Linked DNA regions of Homo sapiens: region 1 is linked to region 2. The links are contacts of gene promoters, found by promoter capture Hi-C in blood cells and fetal thymus (Javierre and others, 2016). All regions are on one chromosome and are shown on one strand. The core of a region is centred on a gene start or on the middle of the fragment in contact, and the rest is flanking DNA. Distances in the headings are between cores, read along the strand shown. Region 1 overlaps TRMU (tRNA mitochondrial 2-thiouridylase). Region 2 holds the start of LINC00899 (long intergenic non-protein coding RNA 899).

Region 1 (6,164 bases), core at 3,464-5,963, 290 kb before region 2:
ATTAATAATTGAACCCAAAGAGGAAGTTATGGGAATCCCAACTGGAAGCCAGTTGGTCATAAGTTCTAGAGGCCCATACTTTCGACTGCTGTTGTGGGGGGAGTCCGTCTGGGGGACTGAACCCCCAACCTTTGGGATCCAGCACTATCTCCAAGTAGATGGTATCGGAACTGAATCAGAGGACACCCAGTCGGTGTCCACTGCTTGCTGTATGGGGAAAACCCCCCACACCTTTGTCACAGAAGCCTTCTTCCGTGAGGATGACTGCCGTGATGAGAACAGAGGAGAAACACAGTCAGAGGCTTCCCTACACAAGGGCTCCATGAGCCATTCTGCAATCTCAGCCTGGAATGCTGCGTCACTGGGCAAATATACCAAAAATACTATCCTCAGGTGACAAACACACACTTCTGAGAACTAGCAAACTCTTGGGTGCTTAAAGTGGATCAGGCTATCCTAATTCAGTGAACTTCTGCTCTAACAGACTGACTGAACATGGGAAAAAGATGCCATGATACCAGCAAAACTTACCAAGAATTTCATAGTCTTCGAGGATTCACTTCAAGAGGGTTATGATGCCTATTTTGGGAGTTTAAAAATGGGTGTATTTTTGGTATAAGTGATTTTTTTCATTTAACCTAAAACTCTCTATTAATCAACAAGGGTTAAAAAAAAAACCAGTGCTGATCAAGAGGTTTGTGTTTTGCAGACATATCACAGATCTGCACAGGGTCAGAGGTTCCTTGGATATCTTCCACTTTAGCAGGCACCAAACTGTTTTCCTACTTCTCAGTCCCCCTAGAAGTTCATAAAAACTCATGTTTTTCCACATTTGCAACAACACTTGATATTATTACACTCTTTCCATTTTGCTTTAATTATTAGAAAGTTACCAGGAAGCTCATTAAACTATAAACTACTTAAGGTGCAATCTGTGTCTGTGTCCTAGACCCAACAAACTTTCTATATCACAGTCATCAATAAATGTTGAAGAGGCTGAACATTAAAATCAGTTTCTGAAAAGACACACTGTTAACCCTTTCGTAAACAGCAGATGGGAAGGCGTGTGTTTTGGCATTAGCAAAAACAATGGAGTAGCCCAGCCTCTTCTCTAACTGGAAAGAAGAGAAGCCTTTCATGTGCCTCGGGAGGGAGACAGATTTAAAAGACTCAGCAGCTAAAACGTATCTGGACTCTGATCCTTGAAGGCCAGTGGGTCTTGAATGAAAGAATGCAAAAGAAATCTCTGAGCTAGAGAGCCCTACTAGAGAAGTGAGTCTTCAGCGGAAAGACCAATGCCTCCACGGGCAGCTGGTACTGGGCGAGGGCAGAGGGCAGGCTGGCTGGAGCCAGGGGCGACCTCGGGGGCAGCCCCAGAGATGGGAAAAGACTCTACCCGGCCGCCTCCTTCTCTCAGTCCCTATCAAGCAGCGCCAGAAGGCGGCAGCAAGCACTGGCCTGGAAAGCTGGGTTTTAATCCCAGCTCCGCTCCTAATTCTGGGGTTTAATCCCAGCTCCGCTCCTAATTCTGGGGTTTAATCCCAGCTCCGCTCCTAATTCTGGGGTTTAATCCCAGCTCCGCTCCTAATTCTGGGGTTTAATCCCAGCTCCGCTCCTAATTCTGGGGTTTAATCCCAGCTCCGCTCCTAATTCTGGGGTTTAATCCCAGCTCCGCTCCTAATTCTGGGTTTTAATCCCAGCTCCGCTCCTAATTCTGGGGTTTAATCCCAGCTCCGCTCCTAATTTGCCATACTATTCAAGTCACTCTTCCTATCTGGCCTCAGCTGAGCTAAACTTCAAAAATCGCATCCACTCGTACGTTCTGAAAAAGCTGTGCTGGCAGGTGAAGTGTAAGCTCACTTGGATTCCCTGTTGTCCCCTCAAACTCTACAGTACTCATGAGGAATCCCCTAAACCAGCTTTCCCCAGCCACCCAGCCTTGATCTTGAAACTACTGCTGACTCCTCTCCTCTCTGGTCTCCCACACACATCAGTCCCTAAGCCGCATCACACCTTTTCTCAAAGAAAGACCCTGACAACCCCCCACACCACCAGCACAGCTGAAGTGCTTATTAAAGCAGATTCCAGGGCCGCCCCCAGACCTCGGTCCAGGTCTGTGTTTAACAAGCACCTCAGATCTACTGCCCGGTGGACTTGTCCTCTGGGTCCAACAAGCCAGCCCTCACCTTCCACTCCCACACTCCCTCCCCATGAAGTCCAAATCTCCAGCAACAGCACTTCCTGAGACTCTCTGCCTTTGGTCTTCCCCCAGATTTATCCTGTATTTGGCCGCCACACTCTTTTTTTTTTCTTATGTCCCCGAGAAAACTGCAGAAGTTTTTAATGCATTTATCATGCATTCTACAGATAAGTTTTTAATGCATTTATCATGCATTCTACAGGTAACTTTCCCCAGGAAAATTCAGCCATCAGTTTTGTCCATGTTGTTAATATATACGACACCCATATGTTATAGCATAGAGTCACAGAGGGTTCATATTCAAGCTCTTCCGTTGATTATTTAGGTGACCATAGTCAATTTACTTAATCTCTCTAAATTTCGTTTTATTGTTATTTCAATGGTTTTTTGGGCAACAGCTGGTATTTGGTCACATGGATAAGTTCTTCAGTGGTGACTTCTGAGATTTTGGTGTACCCGTCACCCAAGCAGTGGACATTGTACCCGATGTGTAGTCTTTTATCCCTCACCCCAGAGTCCATTATATCATTTTTATGCCTTTGCGTCCTCATAGCTTAGCTCCCCAGACTCATCTTTTTAATAATGAAAATAAAAATAGCAGGCTGGCGTGGTGGCTCACGCCTGTAATCCCAGCACTTTGGGAGGCTGAGACGAGTGGATCTTCTGAGGTCAGGAGTCTGAGACTAGCCCGGCCAACATGGCGAAACCCTGTCTCTACTAAAAATACAAAAATTATCCGGGCGTGGTGGTGCATGCCTATAATCCCAGCTACTTGGGAGGCTGAGGCATGAGAATCGCTTGAACCTGGGAGGCAGATGTTGCAGTGAGCCAAGATTGCGCCACTGCACTCCAGCCTGGGCAACAGAGCGAGGCTCTGTCTCAAAAAAAAATAGAAAAGAAAAACAGCTATGTTTATTGACTGCTTACTAATATACCAGGCATACATACTAGAACCTAATCTCAATTCTTTCATAACCCTGTGAGGCATCAGTGTTATCCTCATTTTAAAGATGAGAAAATTGGGGCTTAGAAAAGTCAAGTATCTCTTCTGGGTCTTTGTTGGCAGGAAAAAAAGAGAATTTTTTTCAATTAAAAAAACAAAGTCAAGTAAATTGCCCAAGGTCATATAATAAGCTACAGTCAGGACTCAACCCAAGGCTCTTCTGCCCCTAAAGCCCACTCAGGCAGGGGCAGCCTGTCCCGCGCACATGGCCTGCTGTGTCAGACGCCTTCGACAACTGCCCGACATTCATCACAGTCAGGGCTCACCAGAGGATGAGCCCTACACTCCTTCCACTGCAGGAACAAAAGTCCAGCCAAACTTTACAACGGTCCTGAAATACACAATCAGCATTTCTTCTCCCCTTCACGCTGCTCTCGTTACCCCATTTGGAGTCCCTTCTCTACAACTTTGTTTGCAACCCCTCCTCTCCGGTGAAGCCTTCTTGATTACTCCACACTGCAAGTTTCTCCCTCCTCTGGGTTCAGTGACTGATAGCATCACTGGTACTTCCTGCGTGCCACGCATCACTGTCACCTCTTGTGAAGATAATGTCCTCCCAACTAGACCGCAAACTCCTACAGAGCCAGGTCACAGTGAAGACATCTTAATGTTCCTAGATGTGGCACACGCCTAGCACACAGCACTTAATTATTGAGATTATATTGGATTTTAGAAAAGTTTTTGTTTGTTTCTTGTTTTCAGAGGCACAGGCCATGTATCACCTCTTTCTCAGAAATCCCCTAATCGCTGACCCACATAGCACACAGGCATTGGTGCTCACCTTCCAGGGGAGCCCTCAGCCTTAGCTCCCCTATCCTAACTGGGCAACAGAAACAGCTCAAGGTCCAAGAAAGCATTAAAGAGACTTCAGGCAAGTGGCAAAATGACAGGAGTGAGAGAGCTGGGTGTGCTGTGGGGTCCAGGCCTCGCCTCTAACACAGAGCCCCGAGGGTGGCTGAGGCCTCTTGCAGTCTTCAGCACCACCGTGGAGGGAGAGCGCTGGGCTGCAGCACAGGCGTCGGTCTGGCTGGTTACCGGATCCTTCCACTGCAAGGATCCACAGTGTGAGGAAGCTTCCTTTGTGCTGTGACCCGCACTCACCTGAACACATCATTCCAATACTCCTTTACGTAGGACACTTGATGGAAAGGGATGTCTAAGATCTGGCAAACTCTGTAAGCATCTTCACAGTCTTTGTCGGCAGTACAGACCCCATGTTCATCCAGTGAGTCCCAGTTCTTCATAAACACCCCTGTCACCTGGTAACCTGCGGGCGGGAAGGTCAATTAAAGAGAATACATAAATCAACCTTCGGTAAAACGGCAGTGATTTCTGAGCTCTGAGAAGTTCCCCACACGCTGTGCTCCTGTGCCTCTGTGCCTGGCCTGCCGGGCAGTCCCTGCTTTGCCATGTGGCTTCAGGGATCCGGTTTCCATCTTGGTGCCTGAGTCCCCAAGATTAACGAGGTGGTATTTTCTCATCTTTGTGTCCCCATCTATGTATCAGCACAATACCTAGCAGGAGGGGATCAGCCAGTGTGTGTGGAATACACGAAGGAATAGTCGAAACTCAACAAAATTTTTCAAAGCACCATTCAGTTATCAAAAAAGGAAACTCTTTTCAAAAGTTATTTCTAGTTACTATCTAAGACTTAGATTCTAAGTGATCAGATATAAAGATAATTAAAATTTTCGATATTTTGTAAGAGCTGTACCACCTAGTTTATGACCTATTTTCTACCTTTTCGATTGTAACAAAATATTCACCCAAATATTGGAAAGGCCAACTTTAGCCCTACACCACCTTAGCAAACTACACAGGTGCAGACCCTGTATGAGAAAGCTGGTTCGTTTAGGTAGGCTGAATGTAATGAAAGACAGGGCAAATGACTGCTGAAGAAGGCTTCATATAGTACCCAAAACAACAGAAATTTGATGACAAAGCTTTGTCAAAACTACACCACCACACGCGAAAGACCACCCCTATCCCAGATCAACCAGACTAATGTCTACCTAACAGTCTAAAGCCCCTGGTATAGCATCTTCCATAATCAGGGCTAAACGTGCTCCAGGCTCCTCTCCTTCCATCTCCATCTGGCCAGAACCAGCCCACACTTGCAGGCCTCTGTGATTCTGCTTGCACTGCTGACTGTGCCGGGAGGGCCGCCTCCACCTCCAAGTCTCTGCTTAGTGACATCCTACTCTTCTTTCGACTCAGCTGAGCACCTCCATCTCTAGGATGCTTTCCTCCACTCTCCCTTCCTCACAACTATTTCTGCTTATGGTCCGCCTACCCTTCTCTTTGGCACTTACTGTACCTACCATAATAGCTATGGTTATTAACAATATAAACTAATAGCCACTACTGTTTTCTGCGTACCTCGTATGTGCTGAGCACGTACTCATCAGTATGTACTATGTCATCTAATCCCTCCAGTCACCCCGTGAGGCAGGTGTTAGCCGAATTTTACAGGGGACGGCTTAATTCACTTGCCCAAGGTCAGGAGCCAAAGATGGCGCAAAGCAGAGCTCCACAAACGTGACTCTGTGAATGAGGCCTCCCGCGGGGAGCCACACAGGTGAAGTTAAACAAGTGCTCATTTCAGCGCCGGGCCCGAGGAATGCTAAGCACCCGTGGGGCTCCGTTTAGATGCCGGAAGAAATGCAAATGCTCCTGGAGAAAACTTTGTCCTCCAGCGAGCGGAGAACACAGGAGACGCTGAACAAGCAGACCCGCCGCGCGGCAGTTGTCCAGTCTGCTGAGTGGGGAGGACAAGGACCTCCCACCGGGCGGCCACAGCGTGTGCAGAGGTCAGGCCCCCGGCCCGGCGATCCCAGCTCCCCTCACCAGTGTCCACGGTCTCACAGGTGAATGTGGACGCCGCAGATCCGTGAGAAACCCTTCCCTCCCCACCCCACCCCGGCCCGCCGGCTTCTCACTGTGGGTGGGCGCGCGTGGGTG
Region 2 (6,783 bases), core at 118-2,617:
CTCCAACTGACGCCTGTAGGCTGCCCTGTGACAGCCCTGCCAGAGAGTCCAGGGACATGGTGGGGTGACCCACTCAGATTCTGGCTGGCCAGCCCTCTCGGCTTGGGTGCTCCCCTGAGGAGGACTTTGGGAGCGTAGGCACCCAGGGATGGAGGCAAGTTAGCAATGCTCTCTGGAAGGCTGGGGACCTGGCCACCACTGGGAGTAAGACCTGACAGATGGTCCCTGCTGTGGTTGGGGGCACCTGATCAAACTGGGAGGCTTGTGGAGGCCCAGGCCCAGGACAGGTCTGTGAGTTTCCAGGGCTTTGCCACCGCCGACTGGTGGGGTAGGTTTCTATCCCAGGAGTGCCCCCCAGGGATCAGACCAGTCACAGGGACAGAGGCCTTGTCTCAGGCGGAGAGAGTGGCATGCAGAGAAGCTAGCTGGAGGTATGGGCTGGGCCTGTTGCAGACAGGAATAGGGGAGGCAGCAGGGTCCCTCACCTGCTCCCCAAGGAACAGGCTCTACAGGGCCCCAGCTTCTCCTCCTCCCCAGGCCCTGTCCATGGCTGTCCTGTGACCCAGCACCTGCCAGGCTCACTTGGCACTGTGGTTGCCCCAAGCAGAGCCGACAGGACAGTTGGTGGCCAGGGAGTCTTGCTCAGGATGGTCACCCAGGACGGTCAAGGGAAGTCACTCAGGATGGTGCTGGGGGTGTGGGGGGATCAGGAGCAACTTCCACCTGAGCCCCAGGACCGGAGCATTGCAGCGGCGAGGGGCTTGCCTCCTTGTGCTGTCGGGGGTCCCTCATCCCACAGGCCCTCACCTCCTGTGCTGCCCCTGGGCAGCCTGGCCTCGGAGGGTCAACACCTGAGGGCCCGAGGGGCATCCATGCCCCCTCCTCCTTCCCTCCAGCCAAAGGTGGGGGGCAAAGCGCAGGGAAGAAAACACCAGGAGAAAACCAGAGAGCTCTCGGTTCTCTTTTAAGAGCCCTGATGGCCGCAGCGCAGAGCCCGAGGGGAGGGAAAATGTCGGGAAAGATTCTCTTCCGAACTTTGCGAGTCTTTGTTTGGGAGGCTGGGGGCTGACTTCGCCGGGGGCCGGGCCGCGGGCTCGGCCGTGCGCTCCGGTGCAGCGGCCGAGGAGCCCCGGCGCCCGCCACCCCGGGACACGCCCTCGCAGTCGAGCCCGGACCCCGACCCGGACCCCAGCGCCGCCGGGCGAGGGCGGGAGGGGGAGCGCTTACCAGATCGTCCCGAGCGCGCCGCGGTCCAGGCGGGCACAGCGCAGGGTCAAGTTCACGTCCGGCCCGCGGGCTGCCCGAGGTCCCCGGGCGCGGCTGGGGCAGCGGGAGGCGCGGGAGGCCGAGGTCCGGGTGGCCGCCGCGGCCGCCCCCGAAGCGCTGCTGTCACCCCGGCCGCGCCCCCCAACTTTCTGCACAGTCGCGGAGCTGGAAGTTTCCGGGCTTCGCGGACACGCTGGGCTGGGTTTCAGTCGCGGCTCCGAGGTTGGCAACAAAGAGGGAAAGAAGGAGGAAAAGCAGGCCGGGGAGGGGAGGAAGAGAACCGCGCGGAGGCCGCGGCGCCGAGAGCCCCAGAACTTCCAATTCTACCCAGAAGCTTTTTTCGTCGTGTTTTTCTCTTAGGTAAACAAGCAAGTTCCACGCCCCAGTCCTGCTGGGGCCTTCGCCAGCCACCGCTCTGGGCTCATCTCCCGGCGCCTCCTCGGGGCACCTGAGCGTTTTAAGCCCCACTGCCAAGTGTTTTGGACACAGGTTTTTTTGCGGGGTGGTGAGGTTGGGCACAAGATGCTTCCTAAAAGGTTGTTGGCACGCAGACCATGGCCCCAGTGACGGAGCGGTAGGCAGGGGCTTGAGGAACACGCTGTCTTTGTCTCGTCCCCAAAGCACCCGGCCGTGGGTCACCCGTGATCCCTGGAGTGGAGGGACTGTTGTGACCCCTGGTGCTCCAGGAGAAGGGGTTCCATGCTGGGTCCCGGGCCCAGGCCCACGGTGCCCTCAGCCTGCAGTTCTCCACCTTGCGGAATGATTTGCTGGCCCGGCCCAGCTCCCCGGCACCACCATTTTCTGCCCTCTTTTCCCTGCCTGGCTTCAAACCCTCCCAGGCAAGGGTCCCGAGGAGACACCTGGGCTGGGGGAGGCAACTGAGTGGCCCCAGGCCTGGGAATCTGCAAAAGTGGCCAAGCCACATCTCTCGAGACTGCAAGGGCCCTGGAGGCGCTGGGAGGCACAGATCTGGCTGCCAGCTGGGCCTGAGGCCTCCCTTTGTCCGTCCTTCCTGTTCTTCCTCACCAGGTGTGTTTACGGAGAAGACACTCCGGGCCAGGCCAGCTCCTCCAGAGCACTATTTCAGGCTGGGGAGAATGCGGATTTTTTTTTTGTTGTTGTTTTTTAAAGAAAAATGAACAAGGAGCCTGGTTGGGGATTGGGGTGGGAGGAATATTTGTCTTTTGTCCCACAAACGTGTGTGATGCTCCAAAGGGCTGGAGAACCTCTCTCTTAAGTGGATATTTTTCCCCTCAAACGACTTCTCAGACATGATCCTCTCTGAGGTTGGTCCTGGGCTTCCATACGTGATTCATGGAAGAGGTCTCAGCCCCAAGAGCCCCTGAGGGTACTGTCCACTCCCCCTGGAAACTTCCAGAACCTGACGTGGGGCTGAAGACATAGAGGTAATGGGGATGGGCTGGTGGGGCGCTGGCTGGGACAATGTGTGGAGCCCTTGTTTTCAGAGCTACAGATGCTTGTCAGCTGACAGTTCGTTTCCAGCATCCACAGTGGACCTCCTTTGGGGGAGCATTTACCTGCCAATGAACCCCAAGATCCTTTCTCAGAGGCGGCGGGATGAAGTTTTCCTTTTTTTTTTTTTTAGTTAATATATTTTATTTAAACCAATATATCCAAAATATTATCAGTTCAACATACGATCAAGATAAAGATTAATGAGATACTTTACATTTTCATACTAAATCTTTTTTTAAATTTTTGTGAGTACATAGTAGGTATAAACATTTAGGGATGAAGTTTCTTACTGTGTTTTCCCAGTAACAAGCACTGGCATCAGCTGTCATGATTTCTCCCCAAGGCCTAGGATGGTCAGCCTCGCACGCTCCACAGCAGAGTGACTGAAGCTCTATCGAGGTGTGGCACGAGCGTGTTGTCATTTCAAGAGAATCTGCAGCCTCCCTGGTTTTTAATGAAAGCTCCTATGCAGGGCCTGGCCCTTTCCTGGGGAGGGAAGGCTGGCTGTGTCTCCCGCTGCATCCTCACTGGGAACTTCATTCCTGAGCTGCGACCGCTATTTTTTGGATTGGAAAATGCCTTGGGAACGGCTCATCTTCCTGCGGCTTGAGCCCATTTGTTTTCTGACTGGTGGTCACTGGTGATTAGAGTGTGTCCCAAAGGGAACCGTCACCTTAGTTCTATCATACACTATCAATAACTTGTCCAGGGCTGACTTTGTGGCTGTGTGGCTTGCCCAGTGGTAGAGGGCCGGTGTGCAGAAGGGCCCCACACTCAATGTTTGGCTGTCCCCGGTCTTAAAATTCTTAGTCATTCTTGAACAAGGGAACCCATATTTTCATTTTGTTCTAGGCTCTGAGAGTTACATAATTGATTCTGACTTTGGCTGTTGGTCAACAGTGTCATAAGGTAAAATAAGGTAAAAATCTATGATTTTTATATTTCTTTTTTTCTTTCTTTCTTTTTCCTTTTTTTTTTTTTTTTTTTTTTTGAGACACAGTCTTGCTCTGTCACCAGGGTGGAGTGCAGTGGCGCAGTGGTGCGATCTTGGCTCACTGCAACCTCCGCCTCCCGAGTTCAAGCGATTCTCCTGCCTCAGCCTCCTGAGTAGCTGGGACTACAGGTGCGCACCATCATGCCCAGCTAATTTTTGTATTTTTAGTAGAGACGGGATTTCACCATGTTGGCCAGGGTGGTGGTCTCGATCTCCTGAACTTGTGATCCGCCCACCTCGGCCTCCCAAAGTGCTGGGATTACAGGCGTGAGCCAACGTGCCCAGCTGATTTTTATATTTCTTTTACTAAATTCTGTTTACAGAAATAATTCCAGATTCTATGTAAGATACAAATATTTTAACTGAAGATCATTGTATTTAGGGAAAATGTTCACCTTTAAGAGACAGGGGCTGGGCGTTGTGGCTCACGCCTGTAATCCCAGCACTTTGGGAGGCCGAGGCTGGTGGATCGCACGAGCCCAGGAATTCCAGACCAGCCTGGGCAACACGGCGAAACCCTGTCTATGCAAAATATACAAAAATTAGCCAAGCATGGGGGTGTGCACCTGTAACTCCCAGCTACTCCAGAGGCTGAGGTGGGAAGACTGCTCAAGCCCGGGAGGTCAAAGCTGCAGTGAGAGACCTTGTCTTAAATACAAACAGGCAGGAAGTCGTTATAAGCATAATACAATCCTGGATGTTGGAATCATCCCTGTCCAGCCTTGGCTCTGCCACGTGGGTGCTGAATGCTGCCTCAGGGACCCTGGTGCCCAGCTCCCACCTGCAGGGTGTTCTGAGGAGCCAGCACGCTGGGAGGGCCTAGCAGGAGATGTGGCATGAACCAGGTATTCGATAAATAAAAAGTGCCTTTGATTGTCACGTTTATCATTTGACATGTAGGCACAGGTGCAGTTTGATTATTTTTAATGTAAGTCTATTTTATCTCTTCCCGTTATAAAAGCAATACACACTGTGATAGACGGTTTGGAGAATTCAGGAAAGAAAAAGAAAAAGAAAAAAAATTCCTCCTAGGCCCTCTGCTCCAGAGCCTCCAGCCGTCACATGACAGTGTATTTCTTTACAATTACAGAAATAGATACGTGACTGTTACATTTTGAAACTTTTTCTTTTACCTTGACTTATTTTTAAATAGAAACACTAGTGAGGCCCCACAGAACTGAGCAGAACTAATGGCCCCCCATGTGGTGGAATAGTTCTGAGCTGGCCCCACTTTGGATGCAGCCTTCCCCGGCAAGTCTAAACCCAGTCTCTGTGGCTGCCTGTTCACAGGGACCGTGGACTGTGATGTTTACAGTACGAAAGCACTGGGAGAGAACGCTACATCACAAAGTGTCCTTAACCTGCTGCCGCCTCAGCTTTCCCATTTGTGACTTGGTTAAAAAAAATTTTTTTGACAGTTTTAAGCTCTTATTTTAATTTCCACAGGCTGTTGTAGAATCTGCTCAGCCAGGGAGGGGAAAGGAGTCGGCAATCAGGTCTCCTCCTGGGCACCTTTGTGAGGCCAGCTGGCGAGAGTGGGGGGTGACACTGAGGTCCCAGCAGCTCCAAATGCAGGCAGAGCCCTGTCCTCAGAGAAGGTCACAGCCTAGCCAAGCCCAGCCAGGTGGATGGGCCCACGGAACGCACAGGAACCTGGAACGGAGGTTGAAAGCAGGAAGCACAGTCTGTGACTCCCCAGCCCACTCTGCATTCGACCACTTGGGGCCCAGAAGCTTCAGGAAAGGTGCACAAGGTCACTGGGTCCCAGTACTCCCAACAGGAAGGTCTGGTCCAGGGACAGGGCTCTTCCCGACTCCCCTTAGCCACACGCACCAGAAGTTCTGCAGTGCCCAGTGGGCATAGCAGTCCCCAAGAATGACCCAGCACTGAAGCTGAGCCAAAGAACTTGGGGAGCGAGCCACACCCCCTCACTCCCTCTTCGCCTGCTCCAGACTTGCCAGGCGGTTGCTTTTCGTGGGAACCGGGATGTCCTCACCACCCTGTCCAGGGCCCAGCCCCATGTCCCTGGCCTGCTACAGCTGGAAAAAAAAAAGAGAGATGTTTGTTTTTATTTGTTTATAAAAAGAAAAGTGTTATATATATAACATATTATACCTCATGAATACATACAATTATTTGTCAATTAACAATAAAGAAAAATACAGCAAGCAAAAAAGACTCTCTTCCACAAAAATAGTGTTCATTACAGAAAAGTACAAAAAAAAAAAAAAAAAACTAAGAGGATATTTAGAATTAAGAAAAAACTAAGAGGGTATTTAGAATTAAAAAATAAAAAGAAAACAATTACCCATGAGGTAATTACTGAATGCATTTGGTTGAAAGTCCTTCTGCTATATTTTCCAAACTGTATGTGTATATATGTGCGCATGCATATATGTGTTTGTGTGTGTGTACACATATCTATATGAATGGACCATATCGTAAGTTATAAATGCATACATATATTCATGTATATATAATCATTAGATCATACTATAGGTTATTTTACAGTCTTTTTGTTGAATACGTTGTGAGCATTTTATGTCATTATTTTCTACAAGATTTGAAAAATAAAGTATAAATACCAGTTAATTTTTGAAATCAACCTTATTAAGGAATAAGTTCCATGCAGCAAAATCCCTTTCACCTCTACTGTTCGATGAGTTTTGACAATGTATGCAACCGTGACATGTATCACCACGATCAAGAAAGAAAACATCACCACAAAATGTTCCCTAGAGCCCCTTGCAGGCAGTCTCTGACTTCCTGGCAGCCAGCAATCTGAATCCAACCACCGTAGATCAGTTTCAATTTATTAAAAAAAAATTTTAACTCATGGAGTATGAACTCTTGCTCGGGATCCTGCTATCTATGTTGTTGAGTTTATCAATAGCCCATTCCTTTTTACTGCTACGTGATATTTTATCATATGCCTATTGACATTTGTTTACCCACTCACATACTGATGGACAATTGAATTGTTTGTGTTGTCTGTTTGTTTGTTTTTTGAGACAGGGTCTCACTGTCACCCAGGCTGGAGTGCAGTG

What was found. Contacts are between HindIII fragments. The CHiCAGO score rates a contact against its expected background, and 5 or more counts as called.
Region 1: a contact is called between a fragment that was not itself captured here and the fragment with the promoter of LINC00899 in region 2, in 1 of 17 cell types (total CD4 T cells). The highest score is 5.1, in total CD4 T cells.

Annotation. Positions count from the first base shown.
Region 1 is chr22:46,336,085-46,342,248 of GRCh38, reverse strand. TRMU (tRNA mitochondrial 2-thiouridylase) reads right to left here. Exons shown (of 11, transcript NM_018006.5): 2 at 4,305-4,470. Among named protein-coding and RNA genes, the nearest start is that of TRMU, 3.5 kb to the right of the region's middle. RefSeq lists a silencer at 6,088-6,137 and an enhancer at 5,946-6,164. The HindIII fragment of the contact is 870 bases long and covers 4,279-5,148 here.
Region 2 is chr22:46,039,452-46,046,234 of GRCh38, reverse strand. LINC00899 (long intergenic non-protein coding RNA 899) reads left to right here and starts at 1,367. Exons shown (of 4, transcript NR_027036.1): 1 at 1,367-1,626; 2 at 2,536-2,672; 3 at 3,595-3,661; 4 at 5,183-6,328. LOC124905135 (collagen alpha-1(III) chain-like) reads right to left here and starts at 1,591. Exons shown (of 2, transcript XM_047441696.1): 1 at 1,228-1,591. LOC124905136 (a long non-coding RNA gene) reads right to left here. Exons shown (of 2, transcript XR_007068137.1): 2 at 5,798-6,783. The HindIII fragment of the contact is 16,362 bases long and covers 1-1,602 here.